Regions from separate parts of the Homo sapiens genome. Here region 2 is linked to region 1. Evidence: promoter capture Hi-C in human tissues and cell types (Jung and others, 2019). All regions are on one chromosome and are shown on one strand. Each heading gives the region's core, a stretch centred on a gene start or on the middle of the fragment in contact. The rest is flanking DNA. Distances are from core to core; before and after follow the strand shown.

Region 1 (3,736 bases), core at 751-3,250:
CAGGGTTCAGAACACCAGGTGCAGCCCAGATGGAGAAGGGAAGAAAGAGCAACAAGCAGGTATTTCGCTGCACAAATCCCCAGTGGAGAGAAGGTCTTGGGAAATGCAGCAGAAAAATGTTGACTGCAGCAGACAACGATGGAGCTGGGGGTTGGGATATAGATTGATAGCACCCATAAAATATCTCCAGGCTGAAGCAGGTACCCTAGGAGTTTGAACATCCACCTACATTCAGGGATGGGATAAGGTGGAGGATTCAGGCTCAAATGAGCAGCCACAGAGCAGGTTCCCCAGACTCCCTACACACCGTTTCGACCTTTTCCAGAGTCCATTAGTACCCACCGGAAATGGAAATGTTCTAATTGTGGTCCTCTGTGCCATCATCAAGACCCTCAACTCCCTTCATTACCTCTTAAATTGACTTTAGGACCTACTGCCAGAAGGATGTTCTTAACCAAGTCAGAGAGAGAGAGAGAACATTTTCTCAAGAACCATGCTGGAACAGCCACCATGTTCCCACTTTTCCAGCCTCCACCTCTCCCCCATGGCTGAGGGTGAGGTACTCTGTGACTCTCAATGAGCTCTAATTCAGTCTTGGACATCTCCAGCCCCAAGTCGTCTGGGTTCCAAATCTCCGTCAATCGCTTATCTCTTCCCACATGAGTTCTCCCCTGACTCAAGAAAACACTATAGAACTGTCCCCTGTCCTGGGACCCTCTTCCCTTCTTTTCCACTTGGCTTCACGTGGAAAGTCCTGCACCCATCCCAGAAGACACCTCAAGTGCAACTCAAGAATGTGTCCTGTCAGGAGAACGGAAGCATCTCCTGGGATGTGCAGAAGCCACACTGGGTGCACCCACCAGCAGCAGCAGCGGCGGCGGCGGCGGCGGCGGCGGCGGCGGCGGCGGCAGCAGCAGCAATATTCATTAGTCATTCCTGGAGGAAGCCCCCCCAGCTCTCAACCCTAGGAGAATTTCCCCGCCACTCTGGGAGGCTTCCATCCAGGCTGGGATGACTTTGGATTCTTGAGTTGCTTTCTGCAGAAGCGGGACTAACCAGGGCTCCCAACTACTGTACTGCAAAGAAGCGCGCTGCATTGCTGGGCATGCCCCCAAGCCCGGCCTGGCTGCCCCATCAAAGCCTCCAAGTGCCCCCACGGGGTCGAGGAGGACTCAGGGTTCCCCTGGAATGCCTGAAGCCGGCTTGCCTCAGGCAGCCTGAAGGGAAGACCACACCTCGTCCAGCATAAGGCGGCTAGCAGCTACGCCGCGCGCGGGGCTGGCTCCCGGAGCTCTCTGCCACCCAGCGCTGTGCCCGGGAACTCGGCTTCCCAGGGGAGGAAGAGCCAGCCCGCGGGGCTCTTCCCCAGCCTGGAAGCGTAGGCACTCGGCCGAGGCCAGTGGCTTCCCAGGCCCGGGTCTCAGCCTGGCTGACTGGGAGACTCTCCCGATAGCCCGGCACATCCCTCCTCACCCGCTCCGCCCCCTCCAGGCCCCAGAGGCCCCCTCCCCTGACAGCTGACCTCCAGTGCGCCCCCAACACTTTCTCTGCCAGCTGCTGGCTGTCGCCCCCACACATCAGCTCCCACCTCTCCGCCACCTCCAACCCGGCCGCCGCCTCACCCCCAGCCCGCGGGGGAGGCTCCGCGCGCCAATCGAGTCCAGCGCCTCCCAGCAAGTTAGGAGCGAAGCCGCCGCCTTCGCGATCCCAGTCTTCCCGGGTTCCCGGGCGGCGTCCCCGCCACCCTTGCGGGCGGATCCGGGGGGGCGCGCAGAGCTGGAGAAACTTTCTCCGCCTTAGGGTGGGGGGCACCGGTGCAGATACTCACGCCGGGGTCAGCGCTCGGAGCCATCCTCCCGCTCTCGGCCCCGCCGCCTAGGGGCGTGGGAAGCGGGCGCTCGCTGCCGCCTCTGCCGCCGGCGCCGCCGCCTGCTTGCTCCCAGCCCCGGTCCCGGGCTGGCCTCGAGCCTCCCGCCCCGACGCCGCGCGCTCGCTTTATACAACTCCACTCGAGCGCGCCCGGTCTTATGTAAAGGCTGGCGGAGGCCCGCAGCCAATGGCGCGGCAGCTGGAGCCGGGGGCCCGGGGTGGGGGGCGCCGGCGCGGCCAATCGCGGCCCCGAGAGCCCGGAGAGCCGGGCGTGGGGAGGGAGCGCCTCCCCGCGCTGATTTAGGAGCCGGGATTGCGGTGGCAGCAGCCGGCAGCCAGGCTGGCCCGGCGCGGCGCGGCGGCCACTGGGGTGGGCGGCGGCGAAGGCGGCGGCGAGGGCGGGCGCCCCCCGCGCCCCGCCACTGCGTCGCGTAACCTTCAGGCGGCAGCGAGGCCTGGCGAGGAGGGGAGAGGGCGCCTGGCTGGGCGCTGGGGGCCCCAGGCCGGAGGGAAGCGAGGGTCCCTCGGGAGGCAGCGCAGGGAAGGAACGCGAAGGGGGAGGGGAGGGCGGCGAGCCCCAGGACCCCGCGGCCACCCCTGCGCGCAGGACCGAGGGTGGAGGCGGGAGCGGCTGCACTGCCTTCCCATTTCCCCCCAGGATAGCGATCTGGCGTCGCCGGGCCGGGCCAAAGCGGCCGAGCGAGCCGCGCTGATGGCGAGATTTCGACTACGGAGCTAGAGCCGAGCCGATCTTTATCCAGCCTGGGGACGTGTCCGAGCACCTCCCGGGGACTGCTCAGTATGGAGAGCAGGGCTCCGCGACGGCCCCCGCAGGCGGGGAGCGGGCGAGCGCAGCTCGGAGATCAGGCGCGCAGAGGCCCAGGCGGCTGCGGGCAGCGCCGCTTCTACCCCACCCCGTCCCCACCAGCAGTGCCCCCACCCCATCCCACCTAGTCCCTACCCCAGCAGTGGCCGAGTCGGGCCTGGCCCACCCGCTCCTGCCGCCTGCGTCCTACTAGCCTCCCTCACCGCTTTGATCACAGGTACTGCCCGCCTCTCCTCGCCCCCAACCCGCTGCCTTGGTGGTGGTGGGGGGATGGTTTCTGCCTCTCTGGACCAGGGGAATGGGGGTGCTAAGCGCCAGAAAAACACACTTGATCAGCAATGCTCAAAATACCCCTGTTCAGGCAGGAAACTGGCCTTGGTGGGTCACACTCTGAAGGCAAATCCTTTATTTTACGCCTAGAATAGAGCCTGGCACATAGTAGGCGCTCAGTGTTTATTGAATGAATTCTGAGCTTCCATGAGTGAGGTCTTTGGGTTTCTGAAAGCCAGGTAAAGGGGCCACAGAAGAGAAAGACTTGGGAATCCACCATCGGAGAGGGAAGGAGCTAGGACTGTTTTCCCATCCGTTGACGCTTTTGTGACCATCACCCACTAGTCTGGCTTCTGGGCCCTTGACTCTTAGAATGATTTGAATGTGTTCTTTTATAGAGGGCCACACATCCAGCCTCTGGCCCCTGTTATCCACAGATTTTGAGCAGAACTACCAGGACCTAGTCTGGGCTCTGTTTTCAGGTCTCTGTGATCTTCCTCTGAAAAGAAATAGCTAGGCACAGACAAACTTTCTGGCTTTTTGAGCCCCCATCAAGCCTGTAAGGTTGTGGGCCCCTTTGAAAATCTGGCAAAAATTACTGAATCATTTTTCTAGAAAAATATACAAACACACACATTTACACACACACACACACACACACACACACACACACACACACACACCTTGAGTATACTTTCAGGATCATTAGGAACCCTGAGTCTCTTGGGGCTCGGTCCAATGTCAACCTGTTTCTTCAGGGGTCTAGGACAG
Region 2 (3,590 bases), core at 278-2,777, 45 kb before region 1:
TCTCTTATTTTAGATTTCAGCCCATCCTTGGGCAAAGGACACACATCTTGCTTAAGAGGAAGAGACAACAGCCACTGCTTGTTAAACCTCATCTGCTTCCCATGTGAAGGCGAAAATCCCTACATGGCTATGTCTGAGGGGTGGGGCAGGGTCTCAGACTGCATGTAGAGAATTTTCCAAAGGCTCTTAAAACACTCTAGCTCTCAGGCTTGGAAACGTGTCTCCAGCATGGAGTGTGACTTCTAGATAATGAGATGGGCTATTTAATAAATATATTGGAATCCATCCATCCAAATGAGTGTCCCTCCCCCATCTGAGCAGTCATCAGAGATGCCAGATATTTATCCCAAGGTTGCTGCCATTGTTCCAGACACTTTGGGGCCTCTCTTGAGAATTTTCTGCAAATCCATGCCACATTATTTGGAATAAGCACAATGGTGGCAGAGCCCCATCCTGCAGAGCTGAATTTTATTTTTGGAAACAGTCAAGAAGCTTTTTGGCATTTGTAGCCAAGCTCGGTGAATAACCAGCTGATTGAGCTGGTAATGTTGTTTTGGGTCCAAATTGAAGCATGGTTACAGGGTCTGGTGTTCTTGCATGACGTGGAAACAAGGCTCCCAAGGTCATCTCAAATGCAAAACTCCTGCACTCTTTGAGGGTTGGCAGCACCACTGAACCAGGTACATGACCTTCCAGACCCCTCTGTAAAGACAACTTGTTTGGGCACGTGATGCTCAGTGGGATTCTTTGATTGTAAGCAACAGAAGCTGAGTCTGTCTGACTTACGTGAAAAGGAAATTGACTGGCAGGGCTATGGGGGAGCTCACTAGTTCAAAGGGAAGGCCGAAGGACCAGGTTAGGAAAAGGCAGCTCAAGAAGGAGCCAGAACCTTCTGACAGCCTAGCTCTGGTGCTGCAGTGAAAATAACTAAATTTCAAACAATTCTTCAATCCTTGCATTGCTCTGCCCAAAAATGAAAGACTCAGAGGAGACTGTAATTGGGTGCATGTCAGACTTGTGCCCAACTCGTGGCTCCACCCCTTGGCCAGAACTTCCAGGGATTGTTTCGGCTTGTGTAGAGTAAAGGGCAGTATTCCTTGATTACCATTTTTCTGAAACTGCCCACAAAAGGGGAGAAGCAATTACCTACTAGTAAAGAAAGGAAGAGAGAATAGATGCTAGGCACCAAAAAATGACAAATTTGAACCATAGCTAAGCCCTGTTATTCTTCTTCCTACTACTCTATAATATTATGTATAAGAATTTTTGCTCTATTTGTCAACATTTTTCTCACGTTGTAAATTACATTGGCCTCATTAGCCATCACCAGTTCCATGAGCTGATGGAATCTTTCTTCTTTATCTCATAGCTCCTAAAAAATACACCAGTCTATGGGCTGCTCCATCTTCTCCAGATGGAACTAGACCCTGCTCCTTTCCCTCAGAGCACTCATGAAGCCAGCAGCCAGCTTCGTTCTTCTCCTTGTCCTAATGAAGAGAGCAGGTGCTCTTCCTGCTTGCGGTATGCCTGCTACAGCCACCTCTGGCAGTCACATGGAGGCCAACTGTGCATCTGTCACTGTGGATGAGCCGGGGCATGCATGAGAACAGCCTTTGGTCATCCCAGAGGTGCACTTGCCTCTGCAAAGTGCCGAGGCCTCCTGTGTAGTCCAATTGTGCTTGCTCCCAAGAAAACCAGCCACAGCCTATGCAGAGAAGAATCACCCTTCAACCCCTGCACACAGAGGGAAAACCACGTGCATGCATCTGGACCATTATTAACATGTAAGCCAGGTCCTGAGACAGTAGCTGGCCCACCCATCCCAGCCTGTCCTGCACTGAAATAAGAACTCACTTTGTGAACTGCCAAGAGCTCTGGGGATCCCATTTGACCTCAGTGTCCCTGGCCAGCAAGGGACAGAAGGCCACAACCTCCCTATTGAGGATCTTTGAGAAGTTATTCCAAGCCAGAGCACCAATGCGGACCACAATAGCTGCAACAGCCTCTAAAATGCTGTTTATGTAGGTTCTGAGAGCGATCAAAGCTGCAATGTGTGGGAAAAGGGCTGGGCTCTGGGAAGGAGGAAGGGTAAAGGGAAGATGAGGCTGTGTCTCAGATGGCCCAGGACTGGGAGGGAGGCCGCTTGGGGATGAAATGCACCAAGGGCAGGGACTGGGCTCCCAAACAGACTGCCACCACACCGGGGAGAGGAGAGCTCTAGCATTTGAAGCCAAGACCTTTGCAAGCACTCTCAGGGGGTCCTCTAAGCCTCAATTCCCTAGCCTGTGAAACCAGGGGAGACCTTCCTTTAGTGGTTTGATCTATCAGAGACAACACATGCGAATCATCCAGCCTGGGGCCCATGGGCACTCAATGAAGGGCAGCCCTTCCTTCGTGAGATGTCAATGTTATCTAGAGCAGTACTTTCCAACGTTAAGATGTCATGGCACAGTGAACTTTCAAAAACAACCTTGAGAGCACTCATGCAGGATTGCGAGTGTTTTATTTTGCCAACTGAGGACAATACAAAAAACAAAGCAAAACCCCCATCATCTATGATATAACCATAAAAATACTTTTCAACACCAGAAAAACAAGAATTACAAAATCTTAGAATTGAAAAATCAGTCCTTTAAATAATTTTAGCGTTATGAAAATATTATTAGTACATCATTCTTATTTAGTTAATTTTGCTACAAGATGACAACAATTTCATTCAGACTGGCCCTGCCCTGCTTTGGGAACCAGGGGCAGGAAGGAAAAGTCTGGGCCTTGGTGCCAAACAGGCCACAACCACCTCCCGGCTCTGACCCTTACTAACTGGGTGACCTTCAGCGAGAGATCTGCCCTCCTGTTCTCACTTTTCTCTTTTATAAATCAGAAACAGTAGCATCTCCTTCGTAAATAAGATTATGTGTAAAGGGCAAAGCACAGAGTTTGGTACATTGCAGGTGCTCATTAAATACTAATGCCAGAGTGTCCTGAGGTTTGAGAGAGGGCTGGGTCACTTCCAGATTCTGAGACTCTCAGTATATTAAGAAATGAAGAAATGCCAAAACAGAGTTGCCAAAATCATTCATATCATTTAAAGATATCACAAGAAAAAATATCTGAAACACATGCACACACAAATACAATGGTTGTATATACAGCCTTATGAATCTCGCATTTGAGAGAGTAAGGTTGGAGCCAGTAGCCCCTTGGTCCCCAGAGACATGCCCTGGTTGGCTCCTTTATAAGCCATGGCTCTCATGGATGACACACTCTGAGACACTGACTTTACTCATCTGTATTCCTTTGTTCTTTTCCCGACTGGGGTTCATGTGGAATATTTCTCTAGGCCTCCCTTCCTTTAATTCATAATTCTGAGCATGAGATTTTCTTGGAAATCTAGCTGGTGTCTTCTTTGCATCACTGGATCTCAATAGGTTTCAAAAGGACTAAAATTGAGGGTTAGAAGGAAAGATAAATGGGTGCTGAAGTGGATGATTTAACCAGGGGATTCCAGGGCAACCAAGGAAGGGAAAGGGGTCTGTGCTGGAGAAGGCATGCCAACAGCAGGCTGCAAGATTTTCCCTGTGAGCGGCGTT

The links. The method cuts DNA at HindIII sites, captures the fragments that hold promoters and counts their contacts. A contact is called where the count stands out against the background at its distance.
Region 2: a fragment that was not itself captured here is called in contact with the fragment with the promoter of CRTAC1 in region 1 in 5 of the 25 tissues and cell types used here (hippocampus, liver, neural progenitor cells and 2 more).

The regions. Positions count from the first base shown.
Region 1 is chr10:98,028,621-98,032,356 of GRCh38, forward strand. CRTAC1 (cartilage acidic protein 1) reads right to left here and starts at 2,001. Exons shown (of 15, transcript NM_018058.7): 1 at 1,829-2,001. The coding sequence starts at 1,852. The HindIII fragment of the contact is 23,473 bases long and covers 1-3,736 here.
Region 2 is chr10:97,984,013-97,987,602 of GRCh38, forward strand. All of the region lies in intron 2 of CRTAC1 (cartilage acidic protein 1), which reads right to left. Among named protein-coding and RNA genes, the nearest start is that of CRTAC1, 45 kb to the right of the region's middle. The HindIII fragment of the contact is 8,913 bases long and covers 1-3,590 here.